Regions from separate parts of the Homo sapiens genome. Here regions 2, 3, 4, 5 and 6 are each linked to region 1. The links are contacts of gene promoters, found by promoter capture Hi-C in blood cells and fetal thymus (Javierre and others, 2016). All regions are on one chromosome and are shown on one strand. The core of a region is centred on a gene start or on the middle of the fragment in contact, and the rest is flanking DNA. Distances in the headings are between cores, read along the strand shown. Region 1 holds the start of MS4A12 (membrane spanning 4-domains A12). Region 2 holds the start of MS4A4E (membrane spanning 4-domains A4E). Region 3 has its middle 17 kb from the start of MS4A4E. Region 4 overlaps MS4A4A (membrane spanning 4-domains A4A). Region 5 has its middle 15 kb from the start of MS4A6E. Region 6 overlaps MS4A6E (membrane spanning 4-domains A6E).

Region 1 (3,601 bases), core at 486-2,985:
GAGATGGGTACTCAGAGTACAGTAATTAACCAGAACAAGAATTTTTTTGAGCTTTTAAAAAGCATACAATTAAAGAATTGTCCACGTTTCTGCATGTATATGATTTCATTACATTCTCCTTTGCTGTTGATCATTGCTTTTTTTTTGTCTCGAGAAATTTTATGAGGAAAACTCAATACTTTTCATTTATTTATCAACAGTTTCTCCTTTCATATCTGCTGTTTAGTTTCTGGACTAAGATCTGTAAATTTCACATAGAACCCAGATTATTCATGGCTAGGTCTATAGTTATTAGGACTCAGAATACATTTTTACTGGGTCAAGTTCTGGTTTTATAAAAGGAATTAAAGACAGAGCCAGCCAGTTCTGATTCTTTAATTATTCAATTGAAATGAAGACAATTCTGTAAATGATACATGAGAAGGGAAACTAATAAATAGACTCCTTTTATAGATTCCACCTATTGACTTAGTAGGATTGTTCTCTTGACAGTTGACAAAATATTTACCCCTAGTTGTCCTTTTTTTAAAAATAAGAATTAGAACAACTGCAATTATTTTTAAGAACAAGGAACACATAAAAATATTGGAGCTCTGATGAGATCAAAAGTATAAGACTAAAGCAATTAGAGAAAACCTCAGCAATTTGCTCTGTGATTACATTATTTCAAATAAAAATGGGAAAAATTTACTTCTTTATAGTTTCTTTCTACCTCATTTTCATGCTAACTTCACTTTTGACAGAGTGAAGATGATTATTATTTTCAAGAGTACTTTATAGCATAAAGCAAAACATGAAACCGAATCATTTTCACAAAATCACCCAGTACATCCACAGGTATACACTTATATCACCTTTCACAAAATGCTGATCTGGTGAAAATGAATGTTCTTTCCCTACCTATTTTAATTTTAATTGTTTTCTTGTCAGAAAGAAGTACCTTAATTAAAATGTGTTACAAAGCCAAGGGCTCCAGTATTACTTCTGTGTTCTATGTTGTCCCTGTGGTAGCCACATAATCATCAAGTGCCCAGTGGGGCATGGCCTCGTCCTTTTGGGCCCATGTTCATGGAATGGCATACAGTTGAACCTATTATTCACCTTTCTTAGCATTAGCTTTTTTTTTTTTTTTTTTTAAGATGGAGTTTCACTCTTGTCACCCAGGCTGGAGTGCAATGGAGCGATCTCGGCTCACTGCAACCTCCGCCTCCCGAGTTCACGTGATTCTCCTGCCTCAGCCCCCCGAGTAGCTGGGATTACAGGCACCTGCCACTACGCCCAGCTAATTTTTGTATTTTTAGTGGAGATGGGGTTTCACCATGTTAGGCAGGCTGGTCTCGAACTCCTGACCTCAGGTGATTCTCCTGCCTCGGCCTCCCAAAGAGCTGGGTTTACAGGTGTGAGCCACCGCACCCAGCGAGCATTAGCTTTTTTTTTCTTTTTGCAGTCCGTTTTATCTCTTGTACAGCAACCAACTTACTTTTTCATTCCTCTTCTGTTTTGTTTCTTTCTTGTTTCGTTCATGGTTTTATTCTCCCTCATTTTTCAACTGGCCTCAACATAGAGTCAAGAACTTGTCTTCATCCCTCCAATCTAGAGAACAGAACCCACACAGGTAGACCAGCCACAGTTTGTGCCCATTGATTTGGAGGAGAGATAGGCAAGAACGTATCAATGGACTTACTTTGTTCCTTTGGCACCTCTATGTTTCCTCTTTCTCTGCTCCAACCTGTGTGCCAGTATCAGATATTTACCTGGATTTTATAGGTAGATTTTATTTCCGTTCTCCAAACCAATTTGTCTTGTATCTTTATGTAGTTCCAGAGTCCTTTTATGGTTATTTCTCTTTCACCTCAAGAGATGTAAATGCAACTGTAAAGTTTGGAATACGCTGTGCTTTCACATCCTCCTCTAATTTTTACTGGGAAGCCTATTGTGACCCTCCCAAACACTTTAGTATTTATTTTCTCCAGCTTTCTAATGCTCAATCATTGCAATATCATACTGCATTTTTTTATTTTTATTTTTATTTATTTATTTTTTTTACTGGGATTTTATTTTTAAATTTCTAAACACTCAAATTATGTTTATAGTCTCTTTTTTTTTTTTATTGATCATTCTTGGGTGTTTCTCACAGAGGGGGATTTGGCAGGGTCATAGGACAATAGTGAAGGGAAGGTCAGCAGATAAACAAGTGAACAAAGGTCTCTGGCTTTCCTAGGCAGAGGACCCTGCGGCCTTCCGCAGTGTTTTTGTCCCTGGGTACTTGAGATTAGGGAGTGGTGATGACTCTTAACGAGCATGCTGCCTTCAAGCATCTGTTTAACAAAGCACATCTTGCACCGCCCTTAATCCATTGAACCCTGAGTGGACACAGCACATGTTTCAGAGAGCACAGGGTTGGGGGTAAGGTCATAGATCAACAGCATCCCAAGGCAGAAGAATTTTTCTTAGTACAGAACAAAATGAAATCTCCCATGTCTACTTCTTTCTACACAGACACAGCAACAATCTGATTTCTCTATCTTTTCCCCACCTTTCCCCCTTTTCTATTCCACAAAACCGCCATCGTCATCATGGCCCGTTCTCAATGAGCTGTTGGGTACACCTCCCAGACGGGGTGATGGCCAGGCAGAGGGGCTCCTCACTTCCCAGAAGGGGCGGCTGGGCGGAGGCGCCCCCCACCTCCCTCCCGGAGGGGGCGGCTGGCCGGGCGGGGGCTGACCCCCCCACCTCCCTCCCGGACGGGGCGGCTCGCTGGGCGGGGACTGGCCCCCCACCTTCCTCCTGGACGGGGTGGCTGCCAGGCGGAGACGCTCCTCACTTCTCAGACGGGGCGGCTGCTGGGCGGAGGGGCTCCTCACTTCTCAGACAGGGCGGCTGCTGGGCGGAGGGGCTCCTCACTTCTCAGACTGGGCGGCCGGGCAGAGACACTCCTCACCTCCCAGACGGGGTCGCCACTGGGCAGAGGCGCTCCTCACATCCTTGACGGGGTGGCAGGGCAGAGGCGCTCCCCACATCTCAGACGATGGGCGGCTGGGCAGAGACGCTCCTCACTTCTTGGACGGGATGGTGGCCGGGAAGAGGCGCTCCTCACTTCCCAGACTGGGCAGCCAGGCAGAGGGGCTCCTCAAATCCCAGACAATGGGCGGCCAGGCAGAGACGCTCCTCACTTCCCAGACGGGGTGGCGGCCGGGCAGAGGCTGTAATCTCGGCACTTTGGGAGGCCAAGGCAGGCGGCTGGGAGGTGGAGGTTGTAGCTAGCTGAGATCACGCCACTGCACTCCAGCCTGGGCAACATTGAGCACTGAGTGAACGAGACTCCGTATACAATCCCGGCACCTCGGGAGGCTGAGGCTGGTGGATCACTCGCGGTTAGGAGCCGGAGACCAAACCGGCCAACACAGCGAAACCCCATCTCCACCAAAAAAATACGAAAACCAGTCAGGCGTGGCGACTCGGCAGGCTGAGTCAGGAGAATCAGGCAGGGAGGTTGCAGTGAGCCGAGATGGTGGCAGTACAGTCCAGCTTCGGCTCGGCATCAGAGGGAAACCGTGGAAAGAGAGGGAGAGGGAGACCATGGGGAGGGGGAGAGGGAGGG
Region 2 (3,601 bases), core at 825-3,324, 250 kb after region 1:
TGTTGTTTTGTCACTGAACTTGAGCTCTTTTTTATTTGCTTTTATTTGTATAGTAGTTAGTTTTGTCCTATGCTTATTTAGAGGTAGGGTGATTCTATTTATGTTTCTCTGTCAAATTTCAATTTTATTGTTCTTTATATCACCATAAATCCTCAATCACTTGTCTGCTAAGAATAACACTAATAATATCTCACTTCACACTATATGGAAGAGGAGGTAAGATTGACATCTGTTCTTAGTCTAGAATTTCAACCTCTCTTATAAAGTCATGAAACTCTGTACCTTTGTCTTCTGTAATGCCACATTTTCCTAGTTTGCCTGTTATCTTCTTTAATCTCTTTTTGCCATCCTCTGGAAACCCTTATTTCTGATAATACTGTTTCTATTCTCTAGCAAAAAGGGTCTGATTTTTTCTGCCTCCTCCCACAAGCCTGGGTAACCTCATCCCTCTGGGTGAAGAGCTGTTGGGTTTACCTCTACAGCCATGTTCTCATTCCCTAGCTCCTGCCAGTTATCCAACTTTTGTGAACCTTATTTGAAGGTGCCCACACAATTCAAATTAAATATGCTCCAAGTCTTACTCTTTGTTCCTGCAGTTCTGTCTTGGTCCATGTCTATTGCCTTACTGAATGGCTCTATCATTCATTCAGTTTCCTAACCCAGAATCTGAGCGCCATCCTTTCCTGTTTTCTCTCCTGATTTACACATCCATTATATCAACAAGTACTGTCATTTCTCGTTCCTAAACATCTTTCAAATCCATTCATTCTCTCCAACTTCACTAGCATCATAGGTAGTTCAGTAACCATCATCCCTTCCCTAGAGAACTGCCTCTTTCTTAACCCTAACTCCCTGATTTCAGTATTATTTATTCCTATTGTTGCTTTACATGAAAACCAGGACAATATTTCTGAAATATAACCCATTTAATTCTGAGAATTAAAATAATTTCAGATTATAGACAACAAAGTTTTTGGGATTAGGCAAAACTGGATTTCAATCTCATCTATACCAGCTATATGAATATCTCTGAGTTTCAGTTCCATCTTCTGGAAAATGGGAATAATAATGTTACCTAGCTCCATCCTTCTTCCATTTGTGTGTCTTTTGCTTATTCATCAGGTCTCCAATTAGATGTCCCTTTATCTAGGAAGTCTCCTCTGCCTACCTACCCAACGTTGAGTTCTTTGATCCTCCTATGAGCTCTCTCAGGATATCCAATTTTACCTTGCAGATCACTGATTATAATGGGTTGTAATGATTTATTTATTCATCAGCATTGCCACTTTACCTTGCAGGTAACTGATTATAATGGGTGATTTATTTACTTGTCTATATTGTCAAGTAGCCTATAAAATCCTTGAGCGAAAATCATTTTTCACCATTTTATCTGAAGCACATGGCACACTGCTTGGCTTATAGTAGCTTTTCTCTAAGAAAATGCTGAGTGAATGAAAATTGCATGCCACTTTGCTTTCCTCCATGTAAAGAAGGCATTATTTTATTTTACCAATGAATCAGGTTCAGGGGATTAACAAGGTCATACAAGAAATGATTGCCATTGGGTTTGTCTTAGTCAAAGACCAGCTTGTTCTATGATACCAGCTGCTTCTTTGACTTAGAAAGGTGTTGTATTAATTATTGCTGTACAACCAACTTGTTCCCATTTTGTGGCTATTCATGTTGAACCTCCAAAGGTGAAATATCATGAAAATAAGATATTTAAGTTGTGTATATTAAGGCACAATTACTTTTTCACCAACCTAATACAATAGTAACAGTAGTTCTCTGGGAAGAAGAGTACTGTGGAAATGTGTGAAATTGTGAAAGGGGGCATTTATAAATTACCATTTACTTAGTTGTGTATATAACAATCTTTGAGCAGAGTCTGGCAAACAGAAAATCCTCCACCACTGATACCCACAGTAATTAGCACTATTATTTTCATAGGAAAGACTGTATCAGGCAGCCACTGCTTTTTCAGCAAATTTCAAAATAAACGTCCACACCCATATTGGGAACGCAAAATCAGTTAATGCTTCCGATAAAAAAGAGGAACTAGTTGTGTGTCTCAGAAGTTCTCAACACATCCTTTAAGGTTCCAAACATCTACTAGAAAAGGAGTGCAGATTTAAACTGAGTGAGGTGTGGAGTGGGGGAAGCTGACTGTGTCTGGAACAAAGAACTTTGAGGAACTTGCCCAGAGCCCTGCACTCATCAGACCTGCAGCAGACATTGCAGGCCTGAAGAAAGGTAGGTCCAGGGACTTGCCTTCCTAGGCTCTCGGACTGATAGTTTGTTTCATTTCCTGGGTTTAGGATTTCTGGGAGTGGAGTGAGAAAAAAAAATGAGGTCACTTCCCATGACCCAAGCTGGTAGTCAGGGTTGGGGTGGATTGAGTGCACATTTAAATATGCATTTGGTGAGGGTTGTGGGTGGTTGAGGAACAGTCTTCGCTACAGTTGATGGGAGTTAGAAAAGCCTCCTAAAGGCTGACACTGGAGGCTGGATGAAGTTGTTTTAGTTACTTTTGTTCCGTAAGTTCTCAGGATACCAAAACACTGTAAGCAACATTTTAAACTTTGATTAATTACCTCATCTACTGTTAATGCACTTCTTCCATGGTCTTTATTCTTTGTCTCTGACTGGTTATTTTTATAATTCAAGACTTAAGAAAAGATCTAGCACGTGCAGAATTTGGTGTACATGGAGTAGGGCACAGGCAGGGTCCCCAGCCTTGTACATTTAGATGGGCTGTGGCCTGACGTAGTTCTCCAGTGGTCTTTGGCACTATTCATGTGGCACCCAGGCAGTAAACTGAGGCTGCTCATGATAAAATCTGCAAATGAAAAACATCTTGTAGACTTTTAGCATTCTTAGGATAAGAAAGAAGCTTGTAAGTAGTCGTAGTCATTGTAATCTTTCCCCAGATGAAGTAAATGAAATCCAGAAAAGGGAAATAATGTACCTAGAATCACACAAGTTAACAAAAGGGCTAGGAGCAAAAAACCCAGAATTCTTGGTTCCTAGCCCAGGCCTTTCCCCCTTTTCCCTTCCCATGCCACCATTTCTGCATCCCCATCATCCTCCTAAAAACCATCCAGATTCAGGCCTCATTTTGGGTTTCTAGTCTATTTGATAACTCTGCCAAGAAAAAGGGGATGACCGTGTATACCACTCTCCTCATGCTCTCTTGTGTTGTGACCCATAAGGGGGATGGTGACATAAAAATGAGGAAACAAGAGACTGCTGGTGCTGCTGATCCACAAGGAGACTGGGGCCAATAGAAGAGGGAAGGGTGGTCTAGGTTACCCCACCTCTTTATCCGGGGTGGGGAGGAGGGGCGGGGAAGACATTGTAGTTGTCAAGAACCTGATGCATATAGGTGATGTGGCAAAACCAAGGTTTAGATTCTTCTCCAACCTGAAAGAAATGTCCCTCCCTCATATGTATCCAATATTCTCTGCAGTTAAAAAATATATATTTTGATTGTAGAGAAGTGGAGTCTTGTAAACACACGCTTTCTTTCCTTGGGGACCTTATCTACCCTAGATAATTAACACATGGATTTCTGTGGTGTAAAGATAGGAGGCAGTTATAT
Region 3 (3,601 bases), core at 420-2,919, 230 kb after region 1:
GAAATGGGATTTTGTCACTGTGCTGCTTGAATCTTTCTGTGTCTGCACATTGACTGCATGACAAAGCCCAATGTCTCCAGTAAGCATTTGAAGTCCTGTGAATTCCACATTTTGCACGTCCAGGATCTTACCTCTCACCCAAATGAAACTGTCACTTCTCCCACTGTGACAGAATCATAACAAAGTGTTTGCAGTTCCCCCCAGTAAGCCAAACTGTTTCAGGGCTCTAGCCTCTGTGCGCACTGATTCCCCTACCTAGAATGCATATGGCTGCAAGCACCTGCTCTTCTTTGAAAGCATTATTTGAATGTTAATTTTCAATGAATCCTCCTCTTCCCAAGGGAAATTTTAGCCAACACATCTGAACTTTTTGTGCTCTCGTGATGCTCCCTATGTACTGTGTTCAAGGGCAGGGACATTATCTTCTACAGGTATTACTGATCTCTTGCATAGGTCTGCATGGGCCAGATACTTAATAAATATTGGCTGAATAAAATAACTGTGAGTGGTAGCTCATTTGGAATAGGAACCTAGGATAACTTTAGACTGGTGAGAACAAAATGGCAGCCCTGTTCACATATACAGAGGCTGGCACTTAGGAGTCCCTCCTGTGTGAAGCAGAGAATTGTTGCTGTAGCAAACCTGTTTTCAAAAACCTCTTCATTCATGAAAAGAGAGTAATAACAACAGGGAAAATTATGTGAATTTGGAACAAGAGCAAAATAAGACAATGTAGCAATAGTAGACAGTGTAATTACTTGATATGAATGTTAGGCAGTGTATTAATGTATTTCTTTTGCACCGTAAGGTCCAAAATAGTAGCATTGAATGCCACAGCCTATGAGGTATTCATCAAGATTTGTCAATTTAGTATCGGTTTCCTACAGCTTAGAAAAACTGTTTGTCTGAGTACCCATAAGGAGCCTAAATTCCTGGTGGGAGGGGATCTTATCTTTTTTACTTGGTGGTGCCAGTGTTTTTCATATATTAGTCAAGAGAAGAAAGATTTTTATTGCCTCTCTCCAACTCATTTTTCCATTCCTGTCCCCATTGTTGGAAACACATGCTCAGTGTCACAAAAAAGAACTAGCGCTGAAACAAAGGACAAAGGGTCTCTCAGCAAGGCAAATTTACTTCTGCAGAAGGGTGTGTCTCGCATATGGAGCAATGGCGAGAGCACACAGAACAAAGGAAAGCAGGGGTTTTATTATCTCTAATGCAGCTTCTGCTTCTGTGTGTTTCCTCTATTGGCTAGGGTTGGACAGCACAGTCTAACTAGTCGTGACTGGCTAAACATTTAAACTTTCTTAGATAAGGTAGACATGTAAGGAAGGTGAGAAGAGAGAGACGAGGGGTCATTTACGGGGACATTAGGAAGGTAACCTATTCCCTAATAAGGAAAGGAATGTGGACTGGGGTTGTAGCAAGTTCAGGCATGCCTAGGTTCAGACAAGTTGGGGTGCAGCAAAGGCAAGGGGGTATGTGGAATTATAGGATAGAGAACAGGGAAACTGGATAAGCTGTTTGAAGTGGGAACCTAACTGTATCTAACACCATGAATGCCCTGGTTTCTTTGTTTTTCTCTCCTCAATTTTCATCCTTCATTTCCAGGGCTCAGAGTAAAGGATTTTGATTGTTTACTTATCTAAATTACAATCTGAATTGGAGAAATAGTGGTCTTTGTGACATTAAACAAATCATTTTTTGTGTTTCTAAATGCAAAGGATGGGAGGAGGGAGGAGTACATTATTTATCATATAGAGAAAGTCAAAACAAAAAATGTAGGCTAATGTTTCTGAAGACTACAGAGTTGAGGTGAACTTCAGATAAGATTGGAGCTACTGGTTTAGATGTTTAGATGTCATGGAGGCTCCAGCCCCAACTCTTGTGTACCTTTGTGTAGTGTATTAGCTCTACCCTCTTCTGTGTGTTGGCTTCATGCTTAGGCTGATTTCCCACCGCTTAGCAAAAATGTCTACATCAAGTCTAGGCCTTACATCCATATATCACCCTGTAGTTTGGAAGAATAGTGTTTTTAGAATAGTCTAGAGTTTCAAAACAAGACGATTGAGAATCATTCTGATGAGACCATGTAAGGTTACATGTCCACGCTGATTCAATCATTGCAGTGGAAAGGGGGTGTGAAAAGCACATTGACTGGGCCTAGAGCCAGAGCACAGTGGAGGCAGGGACGGAGTCAGTCCTCAGAATTACATGGATCCCCAGTCAGAAGTCACAGATTGCTGGGAAGAGGAAAGTGGAAGATGGATTCTGGGCAGGCAACAAGTGCATACTACAGGTCACTCCTTTGTCTGCCCTATGCCCAAGGACACTTTCTTCTGATCCATTCTTCCAACAATGATCACAGCTAACTGATGTGCATTCAGCCTTTCCCAAGTGAATGTCAAACCAAAAGCCCCATGCACTTAATACTTCATTAAAATATTAAGGGAGCTCTGTCTTAATAGGGAACTCTGCCTAAATAGTAATGTGTGTTTCTTGGCCTGACAGTTCAGCCACTTCCAGTTCTGTTTTCCAGGAATACTGCCTTTTCTCTCTTCAACCACATCCAGCATGAGAACTGAGAAAATGCGAAGCCAACTTAAATATGGTACAACTTTGAGGGCCTACATGGTGATTGTCTGTGATTGTTTAATCCATAGGGCAATTCTTGGGTCTTCCATCAAATAATAAGAAGGAAATTAAACAAAATTTTGGCAGTCTAATAGAAAAAAAGAAATTGGAAAAATAAGAACAATTAAATAATGGTGAATAGAAAGGAAAATATAAGATGTTATACATTTAAAATCTGATATATTAGTAATCTAAATAAAAATGAATACACTATACTTACTATTTAAAATAAATATTAATACCCTGAAAATTAGAAGTAATTTAAAATATACATATGCAAATTGAATAAATAATTAAATAAATAAAACACCATGCCCTGAGAAGTGAGTTATATGATACTAAAAATAATAGACAATGGAAATTTTATTCAAAATATTCAGAAGATTTTTTTTTAAAAAGGGAATGCTCACAAATTCATTTTAAAAGATCTTGATCTAAACCCAACCAGCACACTAAGAGATGGAGAAGTTTTCAGATATTTTTCAGTCTCTGAAAAATCATATTTAAAACACAAGGAAATATAATCCCACAGTGTAACATATATCATTACCAAGTTGTAATTATACTGCGAATGCGTGGGTGGTTTAATAATATTTCACTGCAGACTTCAGAGGTAAGCATGATAAAGAAGGCAATCTTGTAGAACTTAGTGAGGGAGAGGGGCACCATGCAGCCATGTCACTCCAGACACTGTCCCTTGCAGTGCCCTGAGAACAGCCACCACCAATACAGCAGAGCACATGCACAGGCAAGGCCACCTAAGCTCCCAGGTATCTGCCATGGAGTGATGGGCCATGAGTTACACACAGTCTCACTCCTGGAGAAAGCTCTGCCCTTCTGCTATATTGATTGTCTCTTCCTGGTGGGCTCAGATGAAGGGACTGCCCAACAAGGACTAGACACCCTGTTGATCCACATGCAGCAACCCAGCTGGGCCATTAACACAGACAAGATAAAAAGACCTAAT
Region 4 (3,601 bases), core at 427-2,926, 200 kb after region 1:
GGATTGGTGGGATACTATGTGATACTACAAAGGTAGATTCATATCACTATACTTGTGTTAAAACCCACAGAACACACAACACAGAGAATGAACCCCATTGTGATTTGTGTACTTTTAGTAATGATGTGTCAATGTAGTTCATCAATTGGTACAAAGGTTACATGCTGGTGGAGGAGGTTGATAATTAAAAAGCTATGCATTTGTGGGGGCAAGGGGCATATGGGATAGATCTGTACTTTGCTCTCAATTTTTCTTTAAGCCTAAAACTGCTCTAAAACATACAGTATATTTTAAAATAATTATTCATACATTAAAAAATAAACCCACTTTGGGAGGCTGAAGCAGGCAGATCACGAGGTCAGGAGTTCAAGACCAGCCTGACCAACATGCTGAAACCCCGTCTCTACTAAAAATACAAAAATTAGCCAGGTGTGATGGCTCATGCCTGTAATCCCAACTACTCAGGAGGCTGAGGCAGGAGAATCTCTTGAACCCGGAAGACGGAGGTTGCAGTGAGCCCAGATTGTGCCACTGCACTCCAGCCTGGATGATGGAGCGAGACTCCATCTCAAAAAATAAAATTAAAAATAAATAAACAAACAAACCTAGTATGTGCCAACATAAATAACATATTTTATGAGAAATAACTATATTTCCCCCCCTCCAGAAAATGAATAATGTGAAAAAAGGATCCAGAATATCCACAGTGACATTTTCCCGTGGTTTGAAGCTTGGGCTAGTGATAAACCTATATTTAATATCCTTTCACCTGCCCTATTCTGTCATTCTTTTAATCCTTCATTTCTTTTGGGCATGCTCATCTGAGACTCCAGATGGAAATGCTCAGAGGATAGATTTTTCATCCTCTGAGCAGGGGGCTAAGAAAAGGTGCCAGAAAGAAATAGTAGCAATATGTGCCTGTCAGCTATCAGGAAGGCCTGTAAAGGGGGCGTCAGCTAGTAGTGCATAGGTGGCCTTTTATTTTGCTGCTTTTCCACACTGAGTTTAAATACAATTATCATGGATGACCCACAACCCTAGAATAGATCTGAACTCAATATATTTTAAATATAACTCAACTGGAAGCATGTTGTGACAGAATACTATATAGTTTTTCAGATGAAGAGCCTGAAAAGTAATTACTGACGTCGTGAGGGTTGGCTGTTGTATTATGAGGCTAGTGGGACAGTGTATTTGGCATTAGGTCTTATGAAATATGAGTTTGCAACACCATTGGTCTTCCCCTAGATTTGCAACTTACCCCAAGGACTTTGGGTTCTCCCTTCAAGAACTTCTCTTGCAATCCTTTCCACAGATGTGAATGTATGACAGCCATGTTTCCCAGCTGGGGCACACCAGGGCCAGCCCCTGGCATGGCCTGTTCCATTCCTTGCATGGTTGTCATGGCAGCAGAAAAGGTGCTACAATAAGAAATGTAATTTAGTATGATGTCCTGGAAATGGCAAAAGAGGACATGACACTTTGGGGCAGGTTCCTCCCTAAGGACAGAATCTGGTCTACATTCTCTTCCCATATCATAATAGCTGTTAGAGCTGGGGAAGTGGAATAGGCAACACATTAAGTGTGTGTGTGGGGCGGGGGCAGGTGGGAGAGAAACTAAATGTCATATGATATCAAGATGCTAGAAAATCCTGCAGAGAGGGACATGTTGACAGAAGCGAGGTAAACCTGTTGGACCTCTAAAATTAGAGAAATTTCTTTAAGTTCCAATTCCAAGTCGGCTCAGATTTTATTTCTATCCCTCTTACTGCCTAATCCCTTGATTACAGCCACTTACCCACAAAGGATTACTTTGTTTTTTAGTTTTGTTTTTTTGTTTTTTTTTTTTGAGATGGAGTCTCACGCTGTCACCAGGCTGCAATGCAGTGGCGCGATCTCGGCACACTGCAACCTCTGCCTCCTGGGTTCAAACGATTCTCCTGCCTCAGTCTCCCGAGTAGCTGTTACTACAGGCGCGTGCCACCATGCTGAGCCAATTTTTGTATTTTTAGTAGAGACAGAGTTTCACCATGTTGGCCAGTATGGTCTCCATCTCCTGACCTTGTGATCCGCCCGCCTCGGCCTCCCAAAGTGCTGGAATTACAGGTGTGAGCCACCGCACCCAGCTGAAGGATTACTTTTATAATAGTAATAAACTACACAAACTAATCTGCCTTCCAATTTATTGTATAGTATTGCATAGTTCCTCCTTTTCTAATCAGAGCACAGTTAAATTCACAGGGCTGAAAATCTTCCCATGTTCCTCCTTGCTGAGTGTGATTTATGTAACCTTGTATTTTGTGCCACAAACTCTGAACTTTGGGAATGAAACTTATGGCTCTCAGTCATATTCTTGGCACCACAAATCTAAATCTCTTGTCCTATTACATTGCTTTAAATCCTAACTTGCTGGTGCATAGCAAGGATCCATCAAATCATTTTTTGAGAATCTAAGCACAAACATATTACTCTTATATCTCTTTCTGTCCTCAGTATAATAACTCCAACCAAGTCATGTAGAGATAGGCTAAAGTCACATGGAAATTTTTATCTATGTAGTTGAATTCATATTCAGGTGTTTCATGATCAACTTCCATAAATTTTTAGGGAAATGAAGCTTGCTAATATCCTTCAAGTAATAGTTAATTTTGATACCACTTATTCTCCACTGAGCCCCTATAAAAGTCTCGTTTTGAGATGTGTGCCCTTTTATTGGTACCATAAATGAAAAAAAAATTGTTGTACTCCAAATTTGCTATGTTGAGAAAAAAATTAAGATTTCTCTGAAAAAATTATCATCCTGTATTTATTTTTGATACATCAATGGAAATAAATTATTAGCTATCTAACAATAAAACTGATTAAAGTCAGAAGAAGGGGGGTGAATTTCAGAGAAAGATAGAGGAGAAACGTTAAAATGAAAAGATTAATTATTTAGAACATTAATTTAACTTTAGTAATGTATATACTTAAAATTATGAAAAATAGTAAAATAAAAAGTACAAAATTACAAATTATAAAATAAGTATTTCTTTTAAAAAAGAAAGACAAATATAATAAATAAGAAATATATAATGTAAATGTGAATGAAGTAGTTAAGATAAGGAATTATATATAAGAATGTAACCAAAAAATCAATGTTCTTATTCTTTTCACTTTTAGAAAAGTTCCGAAAACAATTTGGACAAACAGAATTAGAACTCCATTTTTTTTATGAAAGTGGGAAACAACTAACATTTCTATAAATCAGGTGAAATGAGTGTTAGAAACAAAGATTACATGATGATAAATTTGGGGAGAAGTGTAGTGAGAGTATGAAAGAAACAGGACACCATGGCCACAGATTTCAGAGTATACTTATCAAGGATGAGAGGCCCCCCCTGAGGTGTACAACATAAATTACTGTTTATAATCCTGGGAATTAAATACATCAGTTGATAACTGTCACTTCCCTGGAAAAGTATAGTTCTGAGAATCATCGAAGTCAGTAGTAAAGGAGAAATCACCAAAAAGACACATATTTAGAAGGCAATCAGTCTCTGAATAAGTCCTCCATTGGAGTCCATAAAGAAGGAAGTAGATATCCTTGATACAAGCCTGC
Region 5 (3,601 bases), core at 745-3,244, 180 kb after region 1:
AGAAAACTGCGCTGGTCACAGTGGCCCATACCTTTGATCCCAGCACTTTGGGAGGCTGAAGTTGGAGAATCCCTTGAGCTCAGTATTTTGAGGCTGCAGTGAGCTATGATTGCACCATTGCACTCAAACCTGGGTGTTAGAGTTAGAGCTTGTCTCAAAAATTTTTTTATATCATAAATAAAACCGGAAAAAAATTAAGCACAACTGCTTCCAGACATTGGGAAACAGTGCCGGACTTTCAACACTGAAAAAATGAAAACAAATGTGAATATAATAATTGCTCTGGTTTTCTGCATGAAGAAACTTTCCAGACCATGGTCAGGGAGAGGGATCCATTCTGATATTGCCAAATTCAGAAGACAAAAACCAGAATTTGAGGGCAGTGAGACAGCTATAATTAGTGAGAAGAGAACCATAAAGGGGATAGCTATGCAGAGACAGAGGTCCAGAAATCTGCAGGGAAGTATTCTAAATTTGTTTTCTAACACTAAGCTGTGCATTTACGGAGTTCAAGACTAGCCTGGTTAACATGGTGAAACCCCATCTCTACTAAAAGAATGCAAAAAATTAGCCTAGCGTGGTGGCGTGTGCCTGTAATCCCAGGTACCTGGAGGCTGAGGTGAGAGAATCACTTGAACCCAGGAGGTGTAGGGGTTGTAGTAAGCCAAGATTACACCATTGCGCTACAGCCTGGGTGACAGAGCGAGACTCCATCTCAAAAAAATATAAATAAATAAAAATAATAAATAAATAAAGGAAAAGGTATATTCTGTTAATGGATTAGAAAACTCAATATTGTTAAGTTGGCAATTTTCCCTTATAGACCTATAGACTCAATACCTTCTTAATCAAAATCCAAGAAGGTCTTTTTGGATTGCATAAAGTTGACGAAGTAATTCCAAAATGTACATGAAATAATTAAAGACTTTGACTAAATCAATTTTGTTAATGAAGAAAAATAATATGAGACATATGCTACCTGATTTCAAGACCTACCATAAAGCTATCATACATTTTAATGATGAAGATTCATAATAAGATACAAAATGAAGATACAGGAAATTTCTAGTCAAGTATTAAGATAAAATGCATCTATTACTTCAGCAGCCACAGCAGTGGGCTTCAACTCTTTATTTCCTTCCTTCTGGTTTAATTCATGTTTTTATTAAAGATAAAAGTATGTCTCTCTTGAAATCCTTTCCATAGAGTATTGCAAGTTTATGGGATCAGGACTCAGAATCAGGAAAAGTAAGAGTTGTGGAAAATGGCAAATTTTAAAAATAGTTAATTTAAGATAAACTACAGATTTCTAATGGTCAGTGGGAACACCCGAGATGATTCTTCCCCAAATTGTTCCATGCTCTATAATCCAATTTACTGAGTAATGTAAGTGTAACACATCACTGTTAGAACTGTTGATTTGCCTCTAACTTTGCATACAGTATTATCATTTTACAACCTCAAATGTAAAAATACCTATTATAACTGTTATAACAATGAGCCCTTTGAGACTTCTCTTACATTTACGAGTGGGTTTAATTTGATTTTATAAATATAAATTACTTTTAATAGTTGGATGCATGTTTTCTCAATAGATAGCAGTTTTTGTAGCAATGCTGATTATAGTACACTTACCAGTTGCTTATTATTGATCGCCCGTTTCTTTATCATTGACTGAAAAAATACACAAGCCTCAATATTCTTTAATCTTTAATTATCCTTACTTTTCTTATAATCTTTGATATTTAGGACTGGTAGAGAAGAGAAATTAGATTTTAGAGGAGAAAGGGGACAGAAATATTTGATAACACAAATTTAACTTAGCGTGAAGCCTTCATTTTGCCTCAGTGAGTCTAAGACAAAAAAAAAACCCAAAAATACTGGATTCAAATTTTTTAAAAAAATCATTTTTAGTCACAGATATCTTGCATCTACCTGAAGAGCTTGGACTACTTATAGTTAGAAGTTATCAATAATATCACTTTATATACTCAAGACCTTATAACTTTTTTTTTCCAATTATTTACAAGGCGAAGTGCGGTCCCAAGATGCTTCCCTCAATGATGAGTTCAACTTTAACCATACCATCCCAACCGTATCAACCACTACTAAGGCAATTCTTGGCCCAACTTCAACCCAGCAGGGGAGCCTCTTGCAATCATTAAGCAGACAGGGAATCAAACTGGGCAACATGGTGAAACACTGTCTCTACAAAAAATAGAAAAAGTAGCTGGGTGTGGTGGTGCACACCTGTAGTCCCATTTACTTAGGAGGCTGAGGTGGGAGGATGGCTTAAGTCCAGGAGGCAGAGGTTCTAATGCACTCCAGCCTGTGCAACAGAGCCAGACCCTCTCTCAAAAAAAAAAACAAAAACCTATGAAACAATAATTATTTTTATTGTAAAAGTAGCAAAAGGAGACAAAGTCTCATGGACATTTTCCTACTGCTTTCTAATCACATATAGATAAAACCAAGAATAACCAAATGAAGAATAAATTTCAAATCACATGACATGAAACAAGTGCAGGTAGTCTTGTCTAAAAGTTGGAATCATAATATCTTGCACTAATAGCACAAAATATTTGCATGAACTTTTTACAACTAAAAATGCACTAATCTTAGGTTGCTTATGTAAGTGTTAAAAAAATTATGTATGCACTAATTATCACCAAGAGAAGGCACTCTCTTACCATTTTAAACAATCTCAAAGCAATATATCAGGATATAAGTCAGGATATTTTAAAAATCCAAGAAACAACAAAGAATCACGTGATGTAAGGACTATGTAGGATTTATATGAGCTTTGGCTTTTATTCTGAATTAGAGAGGAAGCCGTTGAAGGATTTTGCCCAGTTATTGCACTATCTGAATAAATCTCTTTCCTTGTCTTTATATATTTAAAACCCCAGGGGTTGGGCCAACTCCGGGTAAAACTTGACTTGGAGACTCAAAAGAATTACATTAGGGTCTGATCGTTCACTTGGAACTTCTCAGTTCTGCTTTTGTCTGTGAGCATCTGTCTGTCACGGGGCTGCTGATGGCAGCAAACTTACGTCCTCACAGCTCCAAACCCAACAGGAAAGAGGAAAGATGGGGAGACCATTTCTTGGTCAGTGAAGTGAAAATGATGAGATTAATTTTGATTGGAAATGTGTCAGTCATTCACACAATTGTTTTTTCCTAGGTCACAAGGCTACCAAAGAACTTCACTCTAGCTGAGTTGATGTAATTCTGCCACTTCCCAGATGTAGGACACAGGTCAACTCCTGAAATTGGGGGTTGGGTGAGCTCCACCCTTGTACATAAATTAAGAGTTAGATAATGGTGATTTTTTGGAGGAAATCAGGCCATCATTATCAGAACAAATGGGGAATAAATGCCGAGTACAAAATCTGCCAAGTATTAATACAATATTGAAGAAATAAAACAAGTAGGATATCAGTACATACACAATAATTAAAAGATTGGAATTAGGTACATACATAGACCAATATCTCTTTATGACATGGTAAAATATTAACAGTTGGCCGGGCGCGGGGGCTCACGCCTGTAATCCCAGCACTTTGGGAGGCCGAGGCGGGCGGATCACGAGGTCAGGAGA
Region 6 (3,601 bases), core at 377-2,876, 150 kb after region 1:
AAAGAAATTATTTAAGTAGCTAGTGAGGGTAAGGGAGTTCTCAGTAAGATTTTCTTTTTATTAAAAAGCAGCCCCCAAATCATTTCTTGTCTAGCAAAAGAAGCCTGAAAAATCCAGCTGCAAGAATAGATAAGCAAGCTGGAAGCTTGCAAAGGTGAATGCCAGCAGTTGTGCCAATAGAAAAGGGATACCTGGAAGCTAGATATATTAAGCATGGAGGTTCCCTCTTCCCTTTTCTTTGTCACCATGTGTGCAGCAAAAAAGCAGGCAATATGGTGCCGGCCAGGTGGAGACCCCATCTGCATAATAAAAGATTAGTGTGGGATGGCCAGCACTTCCCATGCTATGTAAATGGCACATCTGGTCCAACCAATCTACTATGCCTGATGTAAATCAGACACGACCTCCTCAGACTCATCTATAAAACCAGCCTCATCTTGCCCCAAACCCAGAAATCCATTCGGGATCCCTTCCTCTGCATGAGGAAGCACTCTTCTTTCTTTTAGCCATTAAACTTCTGCTCTTAAATTCACTCTTTGTGTGTCCATGTCTTCAATTTTCTTGGCATGAGACAATGAACCTCTGATATTACCCCAGACAAATGACAATGCTTCAATGGTCCTCTCCTGTGGCGGAAGGTGGCACCATGTGATTAATAGTGGGGAGGTGGATTTTCAAAGGAAGTACATTCTGTCTTTTCTGTCTTTCTCTCCCCCCCCCTCTCTCTCTCTCTCTCTCTCTCACACACACACACACACACACACACACACACACACTTGTTTATCCTCTACATTCTTTTAGGCAGAAGATGATATTCTTTATTCTGTGCTCAAATAACAGTTAGTGTCTTTATTCTGTGCTCAAATAACAGTTAGCGAAATCCCTAACTTCATTGTCATCTCTGTTTTCCTTATTTGACTATAAATATCTTGAAGCCAAATCATGTATCTTATTCACTTTGGTAGCCCTGGCATTAAAAGCATAGTGTCTGGTATCCAATAAGTATCAATAAAAGTTGAATGTCCACAATAGGCAAATAAATAAAAGAAATGGTGTGTGTCAGTGGGGGGTGCAAAGGACAGGGAGAAGACCTAATGAAACAGATTTGAAGATAAAGCTAAAATCAAAGAAACTGACAGTTCCATTTGAGACTGGAAAAAAAGAGCAGAGAAACTCTCTGAGTATCAGGATATCTGAGACAGTGAGTATGAAGTATGACCCCTGCTACAGAGGGTCAGAGCAAGGAAATATGACAAAATCTTTCAAAGAAATGGAGGTCATATAAAATTGAAATACTTTTTTACACGTGTGTGTGTGTGTGTGCGTGTGTGTGCATGAGCAAGGTGAGGCTTATGTTTGTTATACTCAAACAATTCGTCTTTTTTATTTTGAAATAAGGACGTAAGTATGAACTGGTTGTCTCTTCATAACAGATAAGCATTCCTGGTTAGCATTTGTTCACTCGTTAGTTTTGTTTGAATATTGGTGAGGAGAAAATTGAGTTAAAATTTGGGTTTATGTCTGTCATTGTTGATTTATTCTGTGTTTAAAGGAAAAAATAACAAAATAAGTATTAAAATAAAGTATGCACTCAAAGATTTTATTTTGAAGCCGGCTACTTTCATACACTCGGAGACTTCATTATGGGGTTTGCCTTTATGCACTAATGAGTAAAATACATGGGATAAATCAGTAGCACCTGTGATAAAAGAGTCTGCGCACCACAGCAAATCAGTTAACTCCTGTTCACAATTGAGGAGTATAAGAAAAAGCTGTATCCTTTGCCTCACTGTGATCCATTGAATCATCATTCTGCCTAGTTTTCTGGGAAATGTCTAAGACTATTTGGCTAGTCTAGTAAATGGTAATTTACAGCCCTGTGCTTTTGCTGAAGTCAGTATCAGGCAAACCAAGAGATCCCCAATGAACACATATCATAAATGACAGCGAAATAATTTTTTAAAACAAATATGCATTACTTTAAATGCTTACATTTAGGAAACTCAAGTTTGCTTTTTTATAATGGTTAGGTTTTCCATATTATCATAAAAATCAACTTTCCAATTAATATTTCTCCGTTTTTTCCCAAGAAGTCAATAGTTCTTCATATCCAGCATCATGAGTCGTCTTTGAGGACATGAGTAACTGTGAGGCAGGAAAAGCACACTTTAGAAGAAACAAAGTATGTTAGGTCTTCAGACTTTACTCAGGTTCAAGATACATGTGGATATGCCATTTTTTCCAACTGTATACATAGAATTCTTAGCTAATCCAAGACAAGTAGAGCAGATCACTGGGTTCTTCAAATAATTACAATTTATCAGTCTAGTATTCTTCTATTCTCTATAATAAAATTCTGGATAAATCAAGGCTTTTAAATTCAGTTAAATAAAGCAATAAGTCCATAGGGGTGGTATCCCTTGGAATTTGATTCAACAATACATTTTTAATATATCTTTTAAAAGGAAAAAGAATTTTAAAATCACCAGGAGGAAAAGCAGAGCATAAGACATTCACTGGATCCAGTCACATGTGTAAAGGCCCTTTACCAAGTCAATACTATTAAAGAGACTAGTGGTTGTGGCAGAAATTGTTTCTGCTTAGAAGGGAGGCAAGCCAGGTTCTAGCGTCCTCAGCACAGGTACAGACTCATATCATAATGCCAGCCCAGTCATTTAACTTCCCAGAGTCTCATTCCCTTCAATGACAAAATGGGAAGATTGAACCAGTTGATTTCTCATTTTAACTATTTTCATATCCAGTGAACTCTCAGCTTGTCAGCTACTCAATTACCATCTGCTTTTCTTCTCGGTCTTCCATCACCATTTAAATGACCTCCCATGTGTATCTCATGACTGACTGATTGTTCCTTCTACCACTCTTGGTGACATACTCAACACAGTGCAGAGATAAGATACACTAGGCAAGATTAAGCGAGGCTGGCCAGCACACTCACCCAGGGAAGTCAGACAGTCTGTTTCCACTGCAGCACAGCAGTGAGCACAGCTAGGCAGAACTCCAACACAGTAGAAACCAGCATCAGAGACAGAGTTCCCTGAAAGTCAAGAAATAAAATATCAGTGATGCTTGGGTCAGCCGAAGCTTTCATGCCTAGTTTAGAGGTGACCATAGAGATGAAGACCACCTCAACCATTAGAGAATGAAGTAAGGAAACAATCAGGAAAACAAAACTGCTCCTCCTCACAATTGTCTTAATTCAACTCCTTCACTCATTCAGTTTCTTGAGAAGAGAAGGGAAGATGAGTAGTAACTAAATCAACTAATCCATTTCATACACTTGTTTCTCACTTCTTTGAGACGTACGTAGTTCTGATGACATTGTTCACTCAGTAAGAGAGCAGAGTGGCGTAATAGCTCCCAGGACTGAGAATCAGCAGCTCCATTATAGTCTCATCTTTACTGCTGAGTAGCTGTGTAAGCCTGGACAAGTCTCTTTCTTTCTCTAGCTCCTGTTTCCTCATGTATCAAACATGCATACTAACATTTATTTCTCAGAGATTTGTGAGGATCAAGGAGGTTTTGGCTGTGTAAGCCCTTTGTAAAATTCAGTATTGACATCCCTGTCTATGTATCTGAACCT

Evidence for each region. The method cuts DNA at HindIII sites, captures the fragments that hold promoters and counts their contacts. A CHiCAGO score of 5 or more calls a contact.
Region 2: a contact is called between the fragment with the promoter of MS4A4E here and the fragment with the promoter of MS4A12 in region 1, in 7 of 17 cell types (monocytes, M2 macrophages, total B cells and 4 more). The highest score is 19.8, in monocytes.
Region 3: a fragment that was not itself captured here is called in contact with the fragment with the promoter of MS4A12 in region 1 in 5 of 17 cell types (naive B cells, total B cells, M0 macrophages and 2 more); the score reaches 6.5 in naive B cells.
Region 4: a contact is called between a fragment that was not itself captured here and the fragment with the promoter of MS4A12 in region 1, in 2 of 17 cell types (total B cells and naive B cells). The highest score is 7.6, in total B cells.
Region 5: a fragment that was not itself captured here is called in contact with the fragment with the promoter of MS4A12 in region 1 in 1 of 17 cell types (total B cells); the score reaches 6.4 in total B cells.
Region 6: a contact is called between a fragment that was not itself captured here and the fragment with the promoter of MS4A12 in region 1, in 2 of 17 cell types (naive B cells and total B cells). The highest score is 8.6, in naive B cells.

What each region holds. Positions count from the first base shown.
Region 1 is chr11:60,490,912-60,494,512 of GRCh38, reverse strand. It overlaps MS4A12 (membrane spanning 4-domains A12), which reads right to left and starts at 1,735. Exons shown (of 7, transcript NM_017716.3): 1 at 1,685-1,735. RefSeq lists enhancers at 2,012-2,749, 2,750-3,489. The HindIII fragment of the contact is 5,161 bases long and covers 1-3,601 here.
Region 2 is chr11:60,241,610-60,245,210 of GRCh38, reverse strand. It overlaps MS4A4E (membrane spanning 4-domains A4E), which reads left to right and starts at 2,074. Exons shown (of 9, transcript NM_001393391.1): 1 at 2,074-2,253. The HindIII fragment of the contact is 3,157 bases long and covers 1-2,895 here.
Region 3 is chr11:60,258,742-60,262,342 of GRCh38, reverse strand. No RefSeq gene overlaps it. Among named protein-coding and RNA genes, the nearest start is that of MS4A4E, 17 kb to the right of the region's middle. The HindIII fragment of the contact is 7,421 bases long and covers 1-3,601 here.
Region 4 is chr11:60,290,045-60,293,645 of GRCh38, reverse strand. MS4A4A (membrane spanning 4-domains A4A) reads right to left here. Exons shown (of 7, transcript NM_148975.3): 2 at 1,262-1,421. Among named protein-coding and RNA genes, the nearest start is that of MS4A4A, 11 kb to the right of the region's middle. The HindIII fragment of the contact is 1,887 bases long and covers 733-2,619 here.
Region 5 is chr11:60,310,236-60,313,836 of GRCh38, reverse strand. No RefSeq gene overlaps it. Among named protein-coding and RNA genes, the nearest start is that of MS4A6E, 15 kb to the left of the region's middle. The HindIII fragment of the contact is 8,677 bases long and covers 1-3,601 here.
Region 6 is chr11:60,339,320-60,342,920 of GRCh38, reverse strand. MS4A6E (membrane spanning 4-domains A6E) reads right to left here. Exons shown (of 5, transcript NM_139249.4): 4 at 2,957-3,055; 5 at 1,580-2,145. The coding sequence ends at 2,966. Among named protein-coding and RNA genes, the nearest start is that of MS4A6E, 14 kb to the right of the region's middle. The HindIII fragment of the contact is 2,957 bases long and covers 148-3,104 here.